3 separate regions of the Homo sapiens genome follow, and regions 1 and 2 are each linked to region 3. Evidence: promoter capture Hi-C in human tissues and cell types (Jung and others, 2019). All regions are on one chromosome and are shown on one strand. The core of a region is centred on a gene start or on the middle of the fragment in contact, and the rest is flanking DNA. Distances in the headings are between cores, read along the strand shown. Region 1 overlaps LOC105377509 (a long non-coding RNA gene). Region 2 has its middle 280 kb from the start of LINC02272. Region 3 holds the start of PDGFC (platelet derived growth factor C).

What was found. The method cuts DNA at HindIII sites, captures the fragments that hold promoters and counts their contacts. A contact is called where the count stands out against the background at its distance.
Region 1: a contact is called between a fragment that was not itself captured here and the fragment with the promoter of PDGFC in region 3, in 1 of the 25 tissues and cell types used here (dorsolateral prefrontal cortex).
Region 2: a contact is called between a fragment that was not itself captured here and the fragment with the promoter of PDGFC in region 3, in 1 of the 25 tissues and cell types used here (mesenchymal stem cells).

The regions. Positions count from the first base shown.
Region 1 is chr4:157,963,199-157,967,257 of GRCh38, forward strand. All of the region lies in intron 2 of LOC105377509 (a long non-coding RNA gene), which reads right to left. Among named protein-coding and RNA genes, the nearest start is that of GASK1B-AS1, 210 kb to the right of the region's middle. The HindIII fragment of the contact is 3,557 bases long and covers 690-4,059 here.
Region 2 is chr4:156,357,218-156,361,652 of GRCh38, forward strand. No RefSeq gene overlaps it. Among named protein-coding and RNA genes, the nearest start is that of LINC02272, 280 kb to the right of the region's middle. The HindIII fragment of the contact is 6,574 bases long and covers 1-4,435 here.
Region 3 is chr4:156,969,503-156,974,101 of GRCh38, forward strand. PDGFC (platelet derived growth factor C) reads right to left here and starts at 2,297. Exons shown (of 6, transcript NM_016205.3): 1 at 1,284-2,297. The coding sequence starts at 1,401. RefSeq lists an enhancer at 2,084-2,584. The HindIII fragment of the contact is 11,394 bases long and covers 1-4,599 here.

The sequences.
Region 1 (4,059 bases), core at 1,218-3,717, 990 kb after region 3:
AAGGATATGAACAGACACTTTTCAAAAGAAGACATACATGCGGCCAACAAGCAAATAAAAACAACCTCAATGACCACTAGAGAAATGCAAATCAAAACCATAATGAGATATCACCTCACACCAATCAGAATGGCTATTATTAAAAAGTCAAAAAATAACACACGCTGGCAAGGTTGTGGAGAAAAAGGAATGCTTATACACTGTTGGTGGGAGTGTAAATTAGTTCAACCAATGTGGAAAGCAGTATGGCAATTCCTCAAAGAACTAAAAGCAGAGCTACCATTCGACCCAGCCATCCCATTACTGGATATATACCCAGAGTAACAGAAATCATCCTATCATAAAGACACATGTACGCGAATGTTCATTGCAGCACTATTCATGATAGCAAAGACATGGAGTCAACCTAAATGCCCATCAATGACAGATTGGGTAAAGAAAATGTGATACATATACACCATGGATTATTATGCAGCTATAAAAAAGAACAAGATCATGTCTTTTGTGGGAAAATGGATGGAGCTGGATGCCATTATCCTTAGCAAACTAACACAGGAACTGAAATCAAAATACTGCATGTTCTCAGTTATGAGTGGGAGCTAAATGATCAGAACTCATTAATACAAAAAACAGAACAACAGACAGTGGGGTCTACATGAGGGTGAAGGGTAGGATGGGGAAAAAGAGCAGAAAAGATAAATATTGGGTACCAGGCTTAATACCGGAGTGATAAAATAATCTGTACAACCAATGCCTGCGAAGCAAGTTCACCTATGTAACACAGCTTCAGATGTACCCCCAAACCTAAAATAAAAGTTTTAAATGAATAAATAAAAAATAAAAATAAACAAGTTAGAAGTTTAGTTTCCCTCTGGATTTTCACAGTTTCAGGGCAAGCAAAACAGCCTGCAATGCCCTTTGTAGTCCTACAAAGCTGACAAAGGAGTTCTGAAAAGTCTTCAGACACTGGGACTTGTTACACTTTTCTCTTCTGTTATTTTAGGATACAGCCCTCACAATCATACTCCAAGATGATAATCCAGCCATCACATCTATGTTCCAAACCACAGGATGGAAAAGACAAAGACCAAAGGGCAAATATGTGCACCAGCTGTTTCTGAGGGGATACTTCTAGAAACTGCACAGATCACTTCCATTTATACCCTATTGGCTAGAACCCAATCACCAGCCCTCACCTAGTAGTAAGGGAGAAGGGAAAATACAGTTTTTGTTTTGAAGGCTGCATCCCTTGATAAAATTTCTATTTCTAAGGAGGAGGCAAGAGATACTGAAGAACAACTAGGTTAGAATGACTTTTCCCATATTTCCAAGTAAGGGTTTTGCCCGTTTGATAAGACCATGATTTCCTCGCTCTAAAAATGCAGTCTCATGCAGAAATGAGAGCATCAGATTGCTGAGCTGGATAAAGAAGTTGCACAAGAAAATTTAATAAAAAAAAAAAAGATAAAATTAGCCTGACATCCTGTTTTAAACCAAAGCAGCTTAACTGGCATTTTTTGCCTGAGGGGAAGTTGGACTACAGTCAATACTGAATTACCTTTGATCTATGGAAAACTTGGCCTTCACTCAAGGCACAGATTTGACAGCTTTTAACCTAAGTTTTGAAACCACACTCCAATATTCTATATGCAAGAGTCTTCCCCATTGGCAAATACCTTCCTTAGAGAACAGCATTAAGGTGAGCATGACAAGAGGATTTTCAAGTGCAGAGATTTGGAGGGCTGAAGCCTTGGATGTCATTCATTGATGCATTACTAAGGTTAAGGCCTAATGAGCAGACAACTGTTGAGCAATTAAATCAGCTATTTTTAGATTGTGCTACATATATCAAAGGCTGAAGTCTATCTAAGCTTTGGGATAATTATCAAAACCCATTCAACAGCTTCTCTTTCTTCCTGATAGCTACCAGGCCTTTATCGCTGATTTACACTGTCATATGCAGTTTTAAAACACCAGGGAAAATTTCCTTCCTTTTATGCAGCATATAATTTCCCACTATTCAACCCTAAGTCTGTATTCAGTTTATGGTGTTATTTCAATAAAGCTCACCAATGACTTCTATATGGTGTTCATATTCAGCAACAAGTAGCTTTAATACTTGATGACATCTCGGTAGAGACGGGGAGAAACTGTATATTTATAGTACCTTTCCTCTCGCCTTCACTTTCCGCTATGGTAACAAAGGCTGGGGTGGTTATTTTTCTCATTATTTTCCCACTGTGACTGTGAGCAAAGTATCAGACTCTGCAACTTGAATTCAAAGACATTAAACTACTTCCTAAGTATACCCAAAGAATGTCTAATAAAAACCAAAAGCTCCACGAATCTGGTGAGGACTGTCTAACAACACACAATCTGATGAAACTCAAAAGGGCAAATATTCAGAAAACAGAGTGGATTCTAAGTACAAACAAGCAAATGAAGTATTTTCTTGAATGATTGGAAACCATATCTATGACTTATCTCCAAGACTGGTTGGCAAAGTAAAAGAATTTTACCTACTCAAAAGCAAAATACAAATCAAAAGGTAAAAAAATCCATAAAATAGGAAAAATAACATAGACATGGTACCCAACATTACTGAAATCAAGTATACAGTTTCACCAGCACTAACAAAACAATTCGCATCAAGAAGGGTGGGATTTGTTAGAAACATGATAAAACTTCCTACTTGTTGATATTTTACTTGGTCCCAGATGAAACATTTATTTTCCTTTAAAGTCATGTATGCTATCTATAATCTCAGGATGCTATTGAAGTATTTATTAATAATTCAATACACTCCAGCATAAACCCTGATATACCTTACTCTTTCCTGTTTGTTCCCCTTCTTCCCACTGTAGTATCATGTATCTTTTTACAGTATTCCCAAATATATATCATTTCTCCCTTTACCTACAAGACTTAAAAGGTATATAATGGTGACTACAATATTGCATTTCTTTTAATTGTTGCTTAACTAGATTTTACATATGAAATTATGTGCTTTTTCTCATGAATCAATACTTTTTGCCTGTTGATGAAATCAACAGCAGTGTTAAATTATTAAAATATATTGAGGCAAACTTGAAGTTGCATAATTTAACACTATTTCCATAAGAAGCCAATATGGGCTACTGCATCATGCTTTTCAGGGACCTGAGTTTTACAGTAGTGACTGCCTGAAAACATTACGCCAGGTTAATAATGTTCAGGGCTTTTTCCTGAGGCAATTTAAAATGAGAACATTTATTTTTATTCTCCCCAATGGAGCCAGAATTACATTAGGCATACAGCTGTAACTTTTTATTCTCTTTTATCCTGACAGGTGGGGTGACAGTGGCTACTTTCCTCCCAAGTAAATCACATTTGACTATAAACTAATGAGGTGATGAAGGCTTTCTCATCAACACCTTTCTGTTACGTAGCATCAACTTGGCGTGTCCTGATGAGCAAAAGTTAGATGGGGGAGAAAAATACACCTTGAGGAACAACCAAACAAAATATAATTTCCAATCTACACAGCCTCCTTGAAATAACAAAAGTAGTCAAATTTTCTTTCCAAAATTAAAAAAGAAGCAAAAAAGTATATAACTTCTCTAAGAAAGAAAGGCATTTCAAATACCTTATTCAACTTTTACTTTCATTACTTATTTATTTCATTTTTAAATAGATGATGATAAAGAAGTATGCCTACTTTGAAGGACTGCTGTGAGAATCAAGTAAGATCATACATTAAAGTTCTTTATGAAAGTTAAAGTACTATGTACACATTAAATTAATATTATTTCATTAAGAATATGATAGCAAGACCTGGCTCAGTGGCTCATGCCTGTAATCCCAGCACTTCAGGAGGCTGAGGTGGGCGGATAACAAGGTCAAGAGATGGAGACCATCCTGGCCAACATGGTGAAACCCTGTCTCTACTAAAAATACAAAAATTAGCTGGGCATGGTAGTGCGTGCCTGTAATCCCAGCTACTCGGGAAGCTGAGGCAGGAGAATAGCTTGAACCTAAGAGGTGGAGGCTGCAGTGAGCCAAGATCACGCCACTGAACTC
Region 2 (4,435 bases), core at 1,743-4,242, 610 kb before region 3:
GTTGTGGGTTTGTCATAGACTGTTACTATTTTGAGGTATGTTTCATTGATGCTTAGTTTCTTGAAGGTTTTTATCATGAAGGGAAGTTGGATTTTACTGAAAGCTTTTCTCTGTCTATTGAGACAATCACATGGTTTTGGTTTTTAATTCTGTTTATGTGGTAAATCACTTTTATTGCTTTGCATATGTTGAGTCAACTTTGCATCCCAGGAATGAAATCTACTTGATCATGGTGAATTAACTTTTTGATGTATTGTAGGAATTGGTTTGTTAGTATTTTGTTGAAGATTTTTCCATCTATGTTCATCAGGGATATTGTCCTGTAGTTTTTTTTCTTCATTGTATTTTTGCCAGGTTTTGGGATCAGGGTGATGCTGGTTTTGTAGAATGAGTGAGTGAAGAGTTCCTTTTCCTCCATTTTTTGGAGTAGTTTCAGCAAAATTGGTACAATTTATTCTATGTACTTCTGGTAGAATTGAGCGGTGAAGCCATCTGGTCTGAGGCTTGCTAGAGACTTACTATATGGCCAAGCATGTGATCAATTTTGGAGTGTGTTCTGTGTGCAAATGAGAGAAATGTATATGTGTGGTTGATGCAGAGAGTATTTTGTAGATGTCTATTAGGTACAATTGGTCAAGCATCAAGTTTAAATCCAGAATTTCTTTGTTAGTTTTCTACCTTAATGATCTGTCTAATGCTGACAGTGAGGTGTTGAAGTCTCTTACTATTATTGCATGGCTGTTTAAGCTTTTTCATAGGTCTAGCAATACTTGTTTTATGAATATACATGTTCCAATGTTGGAGATATATATATATATATGATAAGTCTTCCTGTTGAATTGAACCCTTTATCGTTATGTAATCCCTTTCTTTGTCTTTTTTTATTATTGTCAGTTTAAAGTCTATTTTATCTGTCACAAGAATTGTGATCCCTGCTGTTTTTTGTTTTCTGCTTGCATGGTAACTCTTTCTCCAACCCTTACTTTGTGCTTAGTGGTGTTGTTCTATGTGAGATGAGTCTCCTGAAGACAGCAGGTGGATAGGTCTCTTTTTTTAAAACCAATTTGCTATTCTGTGTCCCTAAAGTGGGGAATGTAGACCATTTACATTCCACATTAATATTGATATGTGAGATTCTGATCCTATCATGATGTTGTTAGCTAGTTGCTTTGTAGTTTCTATTGTGTAGTTACTTTACAGGGTCTGTAGGCTATGTACTTAAGTGTGTTTTTTTTTTTTTTTTGGTAGTAGGTATCATTCTTTAGTTTCCATGTTTAGTTCTCTTGTATCTCTTGTAAGGCTAGTCTAGTGGTAATGAATTATCTTCATGCTTGCTTGTCTGGAAACTATTTCTTCTTTGCTTTATGAAACTTAGTTTGGTGGGATATTAATTTCTTGGTTGAAATTTCTTTTCTTGAAGAATGCTGAAAATATGCCCACAATCACTCCAGGCTTACAAAGTTTTTGCTGAGAAATCCACTGTTAGCCTGATGGGGTTCCCTCTGTGTATGATCCGACATTTTTATCTAACTGCCTTTAAGATGTTTTCTTTAACATTAAGTAAATGAGTAATAGAGTAATCAGAAGAAAAATAATTTTACTGAGAATAAATTTATCACTATATAATAGATACAACTGAGAAGTCTGTATTATCAATTATTAATATGAAAAGGTTCATAACATTCTGAGATGATTGACAGAAAAGAAAACAAAATGAAGAAAGTGATCAGTCCTTCAAATGGTATGGTAAATAGGACTTAAAGCTACATATGTGGAGGAATTTGAACCCATTGGACTAAATTATAAAATGATCAGACAAACAGTATGATCCACTCTTTACAATGATATATGTTTTTCCATTATAACTTACAGAACTAATAGTTGAATGAAATAAAAATGTATGTAACTGGGAAAAAGAGAATGGACAGAAATTGGAAAGAAAAAATATTTAAAGTGAGCTAATCTAGAAGGACTTAGTAAAATAAGCAAAATAAATCATGTAGTGGCTGTTGAGTTTATATACTTTCAAGATTTCGTTCTTCAATAGTTGAATAATTATGACAAATTCCTAATATATCTTAAATCTTGAAAATTATGGAAGACAAAAGAATGCTTAGATTTTAAAATTCAGTTTTTTGGTTTTTTTTTTTTTTTTTTTTGAGACGGTGTCTCACTCTGACATCCAGGCTGGAGTGAAGTGGCACAATCTAGGCTCACTGCAACCTCCACCTCCCGGGTTCAAGTGATTCTCCTGCCTCAGCCTCCCAAGTGGCTGGGATTACAGGTGCCTGCCACCACGCCCAGCCAATTTTTTGTATTTTTAGTAGAGACAGGGTTTCATCATGTTGGCCAGGCTGGTCTTCAACTCCTGACCTCTGGTGATCCACCCACCTTCGCCTTCCAAAGTGCTGGGATTATAGGGGTGAGCCACTGTGCCTAGCCAAAATTCAGTTTTTATATATAATTAAGAGATGAGTTTTAGGATTTTTCCCTTTTCTTCAAGGCTCAAATAATGTTTGAAATTGTAAGAATGATGCATTTAGAATTTTCAATATTGCAATGGTAATATGAAATCAAGCAAATGTAATAAAAAAGATAACTTGGATTAACGGTAAGATAAAAAATTATCATTACTAAAAGACCATCTACTTCTTACAGAATTTAAAATATCTACTTAAACATAATTATATGTTTGGAAAAAATTTAGTTGAGCCAATAAATCTATCTATATCTATAAAATGTGGACAAGATGGATAAATCATTGATATTGAAATAGGTTCACTAATTCTCTTTTCCCATAATATGTTTATATTTCTCTGATAATAAGTTATAAGATTTCTATGAGTATTGAAGTAGTTTAAGTCTATTGTTTTATATATTCAAAATCAGATTCTGCTCTTAAAAAGTCCATTTAAAATATGTAAAGCAATAAGTAACTTCAGTTGCTAAATTGGTTCAATTGCTCAGCTGCTGTGGGGAGAGGCACTATAGCTTATAAAATTGTGGTTTCTCACTTACAAAACATCTAATCAATGTGCATATTTTACTCCTAGCTATAAAAAACCCAATATGTCCATAATTGTAATAAATTTAAAATACTGCAAAGTATTAAAGAGAATATTAAAATTATTTTCTAACTCTTAAGTATTGGTACATTTTCTTCTAGTTTGTTCTTTGTGCGTAATTCATATGATTTGCATGAGTTACCACCATTAATTTTCAAATAATCAGCAACTGGAAAAGCAACAAGGGGTAAAATATTACATTTCTACTCTACTATTCTGTTCTACAAACGAGCCCTCTGCTTTTGGGACTTCACATCTTTCTTCACCTTATACATGTAGAGGCTTCATCACTTTATATGACTTAAAACAACTATGTGTCCTAAGAGCAGGAGCCAATACCCTGGCTGCCAAAGGCCACCTTGCTATGTTAACAGGAAAATATTATCTATCTAGGATACATACATCTAAATATGTTGACATATAAATTTAATCTATATGAATAGTAAGTTGGGCAAGATGCTGGTTAGTTTTAATCAAGTATTTTCTTTGAGTAAAATATTGGATTGAGTTAATGAGCTAAAATTCAACCCATCATGAGAAACTCTGGAGAAAATATTTGTCATTGTATCCTAATCATATTTATGAATTGTTTAAAGAATGGAAGGAGATGAAGGAAACCAGAAATATTAGCCAGGAGATATTTACAATAATTCAGGTGACTTTCAGGACCAAGATATTCCCATTGTTTTTGAAAAAGACATGAGAAAAATGTTGCAAAGAAAAAACTGATGGAACTTGTTTAATGCTTTTATACAAGTAATGGGCCTTAGGTGATAGATTAAGTCCCAGTTTAAACAGTGTCAAATGCCTCTAGAGACTGATGGGTATTCAGAGAGAAAATAGGTCCTTGAATTTGGTGATTCTAAATCATATGTGTCTGATGTAAAAGCAGTTTTAACTTCAGTGAAAGCTGAAGAACAAAATATTGAGAGGAAACTGGATGAAACGAGTCAGAATGTTTGTAAATAATTGAATGTGAAAAGATAAAGGTGGGTAAGTCATATTTCAAGAAAAAAGGATGGAGGGATGATTGGGCTATGGGGCACTTGATTTCTCAATTTTGCATAGATCTCACTAAATAAGTATTGTTTATCATACTTTCCTAATGGTATTCAAAGCTAATATTTTTATGAGACAATAATTATAACTTCACATCATATGAGAAGAACCGATGTTTGCCTTCTGTTTTGTTTCTGTCCTTCAAATTACCTCTATATTTTGCCAATGTAGTAGATTTTCAGTAAGGGGTGAAACTACCTTGTTTCCTAGAGCTATTTGACCATCCAGGCAGTTGCCTGCCATTTTGTTATTGGGGGTGAGTGGAAAGCAGACAATTATAATAAAAAATAAATATGCACAGCCATGATGTA
Region 3 (4,599 bases), core at 1,047-3,546:
GTCGGCAGAATCCTTATTTTATCTACTTTTATACCCTAAAACTTTCTGTGCTTTCTTAAACATGAACACTTCATAGAGTTTAAATTCAAAGTTGAAGTCTTGAAACACCCCAATATGAAAAGGAAAAAAAATCACTCTGACTTAAAACTATAGCACATCCTATCTTAATTTTGTAGGTATGCCACTTGTGTTCATTTTGCATGGTTAATCAAGTGACAGAATCCTTGCATTCTGAATAGATGATATACAAAGCAGTAAAAACATGTATATTCCTTTTCAAATTACAGTAAGAGCCACCATTTGTAAACAGGGCGTTAAATATTCCAATTTTAGACAGCCTAACATGAACATTGTGGTTTCATGTGCAGTATAAAATTTCTATTTACAAAGTATTCTCAAAAATGACTTCATAATGGTAGATGAAGAGAAAAAGAGTTTAGAAATTGAATGATGTAAATCATATGGGTTCAGAGGCTAAGCAAATTACACACCCTGAAGCTGCCCTGGCTTTATGAAAGGAGCCTTTCTCCAGCTCTGTGCAATCCCAGCCCAAGGGAACTTGCATCTGAGAGTTTTCTAAACATTTCAGGTACACTTGAAAGCTGAAAGTAATTCTCATTTCCTATGCAGGATTAAGTCGTTTCCAGCACACACAAAATAGCAGTCATTCACCAACACATACAAAAACACACCACCAGAAAGGTAAGGACTTCAGAGTACAAAGGCAAGTTTAAAAAACAAAAACTAGGGAGCAAGAGAAATACACTTTTTAATTCCTCTAAAAACGACCACACAGCCTCTTGACCTCTATATTTCCTATCTACTCATTGATTAATTGATGACTTCGACCTAGAGTGCTTCAATTAATGCGGCTGATATATTTCCTGACCGACCCCCCTCGCCCTCCCCAAATCTGAGTAAAGTCAAACATGCCAAGGCTCATTCATTTTGGATTCGTTTTTAGAGGCAGTTCTTGAACTTCTAACTTTAGCAATGAGCGAACCTGCAATGTGCATTTGAAATGACGTTCACAATCGCTCCCAGAATGTCCTCACTCAGCAGTGGCACTCACGTTGCCCTCTTGGAGCTTTGTGGCAGCTCCCGAAGTTGCAAACTACACTTAACCTTTAACAGTCCATGCCAATGAACGCAGCGCACATTTGCATGTAATGAGAGACCAAAGATACCTTCACAGTCTGGTATATATCACATACCAACGCACAATGCCAACGTTAACACACACAGCGAGAAACAAGCAGGGGGAGAATGGGGGAAAGACTCACCGTTCTGTTCCTTGTTGCTGGAAAACTGGAATTTACTACTCAGGTTGGATTCCGCCTGAGTCCCCTGTCTCTGGCCGGCCAGGGCAGATGTCAGCAGGAGAAGCCCGAAGAGGCTCATTTGGCTGACTGGGGTGAGAGCTCACTCACGGCGGGCACTTTGGAAGCAGCGACTCCCGAGTCTCTTTCACCACCGCCAGGGGAAGGCTGCACTGGGGTGGAAGCGCCGAGCCTGCTCTGGCAGCAGAGAATCGCAGGGTAGTTTCCACATAATCCCATCCAAAACTTTTTCCTAGAGCCCTCTTCTGTGTCTCCAGTTTTTGAAAAGGATCAAAGCAAAACCTGGACCTGAACCAGTTTCCCAAGGTTTAAACAAATCCTGAGCTGTGGCGAAGTGGTGGGGGTGGGGGTGAAGGCGAGGGAGGAATGAGGGGGTGGGGACGCGGGGGAGCGGCGAGAAGTCCCCAGCAAGTTGCTGGGAGCACCTGTCAGTTCGGGGGACAGGACAGAGGCGAAAACTCAAGGGTTGCCCGCAGCCAGACTGGAAGCCAAGTCGGCGGCGAGCAGTTTCTGATCAATAACAAAGCTGCCAATAGATGCGGCTCTCCGGGCGCCCCTCTCCCCCGCCCCACCCCCCACCCCCGAAGGGGGAGGGGGAAGAAACAAGGCGAGGGCGCCGCGGCGGGTCCCACGGGCCGGGGCGCCGGAGCGGGGCCGGGGGGCTCCGGGCCGACGGCGGCCCGGGCGCAGGCGGAGAGAGGCCGCGGGGCTCCCGCTCCTCAGCCCGGAGCGCAGTTGGCCCCGGGTTCGGAGCGCCGCAGCACGGATTCCGGCACCTGGCTTGAGTTTTCCGCGACCAAAGTTCACCTTGTTCGGGCTCGTCCCCCGCTCCTCAAAGCCTGGGGCAATTCGGCCGCTCGGGGTCACCGCGGGGCTCCGGTTGTTCCCCGTCCCCTCCCCCCACGCCTCGGGCTCCGCGCTAACCTCGGGGCTACGCGCGGCGTCTCCGCACGGGGTGAAGAGGGAAGGCCGGGGCGGCCGGGAGGATCCGGCTTGTCCCCTCCCCTTCTCTACCTTCCCCCCGCCGGGCGGCAGACAGGAGGTGGGGGCCGTGGGCCGAGCCCGGGCGGAGCGCGCGCCTGGCGAGCGGGGGCGGCTCAGCGGCTCTCCCGCAGGCGGCCGATGGGGCGGGCGGGGGTCAGCGCCTCTGGGAGGGGCAGCCCTGGGACGCGTCCGCGCGAGCGGGCTTGGCCGCCCACTGGCTGTCAACAGGTGCTGCGCAGACAGGGGGTGCTGCGGGACTCGCTGTGGGCAAGACCCCGGTGGCCCAGGAGAGGAACGCGGCCAAGGCGGCCCCTGCTTTCCCTTCCACGGAACACCTCTAACCCCAAATACAGAGCACGATGGGTGGTGAAGGGTGCTGCAGAAGTAAGTGGGAAAGAACTTCCTGCAGCTCTCCTTCTCCCGCCCCCTGTCGCCTGACTTGTCATTAGTTTCCAGGAGGGCTCCCCACTCCCTAAGGTCTTTGCTAGGACCCTTGGCCAGAGTTTCAGAACAGAAGGAAGAAGGGAAATGAATTCAAAGGCTTTCCTCCAATTTCCAGCTCCGTAAAGCAGGACAAATAAAGCAAAAGTAAAGGCAGCCAAAATAACATCCATTTAACAAGTACTATATTTACTGAATGCCTACTATGTCGGGCACTGTTTAGAGGTTGGAGCCGTAGCAGTGAAAACAGACAAAAGTCCCTGCCCTCGTGAAGCATACGTAGTAGTTGGGCAGCATTAAGCTAATAGCAAGCTCTTCTGAGAATGGTGTCTAAGGGACTCAGAATGATCCTGCAACCTTGGACTTTCCTACAATACAGCCTCTAACAAAACTAGGCTGCCCTGAACCCCTGGTGATAGAATTGTTTACATTTACACCAAAAAGGTCGAGAAAGAACTGAAATCTCTTGTGGCTTGTGTTCAGGCTGACTTGGAGAGAGAGGCCGATGCTTTAAGACCTAAAGTTCTCATGAGGTAGTCTGAAATGAAACACACATGCCAAGCAGGGCTTATGGTGGTTCCATGTCTGCTAAATATGTCTGTGACAGGATCCAACGTGCTTTCTTTGTGGAGAAGCAGAAAATCATTGTCAATGTGTTAAAGGCACAAGCAGAGAGTCAGAAAAGTTGAATTTTAAAATGAAGCTATTTTTGAGTAATAATCAAAATGAAAACAAGGAAGTGCCATGGCAGGCAAATCAGCAATATCACCCAACTTCTTGTGGAAAAAAAGTCAATGCAAACAATTCGACCATCAAGAACACTTGGGCTGGAACAGAAAACCAAAATAGCAATGTCCCTGAAACTAAGGAGTGGCATTTGGGCAAGAACATATTCTTACTGGACCAAACCAGGGGCTGATCCTTCTTCAGTGGTGAGGAAAATGCCAAGCCCTCTTCTTATATGCGAACACCAACTGGGGCCAACCAACCAGACCTTTCTGCTTGGAATATCCTAGTCTTCTTGTTTTTCCCTTTTAGAAACCTTTGAAAACTTCACCCATCTGTCTCATTCTTGAAAATTTCACCCGCCTGTCTCATTCATTCATTCTTATCCCTTTACCACTTCTATCTACAGAGTACTAAATATACACTAAAGGCAAATAAGGCCTGATCTTTGACTTTAAGGCATTTACAGTTTAGTGGACAGAAGGTTTTTTATCAAGTATGGTATTTTATTCGAGTTAGCAGCTCCACAACACCAGTGTGACTCCATATTTGCATAATGTGTTCCAAAAATATTTTGTAAATTTGTGAGGGTGAAGGGTTATTCCCAATTTTAATAACATAATGGGACTTAAATAAAGGGCATGCCTTATGAATCCATTGTAATCTATTTTTCATAAAATTCATTATTCTCCAGTTTTTCTAATTTTGTAAGTTTAGTTTTCTAATCAGCACTTTTCTAAATGAAATTGTTATATGTCCATATAGTTGAGTTTCCTGACCACCCACATAGAGGTGGGGTGTGTGTGTGTGTGTGTGTGTGTGTGTGTGTGTGTGTGTCTGCAAATGTAATCCATTTGCTCTCAGGAGATTGGAAGGGTGATGACTACTCTTTATTTTGTATCATTTCATATTGGCTAGAATATTGCTTGGCACAGGGGGATAATAAATAAACACTCTTGACTGACTGACAGGTTTCTTTATTGGAGTCACTTACATTCTCCCTGGAATTTCAGTGCGATAGTTGTATTTGAAAAGTTACAGATGATCTAGAATAATACTCTACCTCTGCGTTTCACCTCATCCATATTCTACAGATTGATTTGACAAT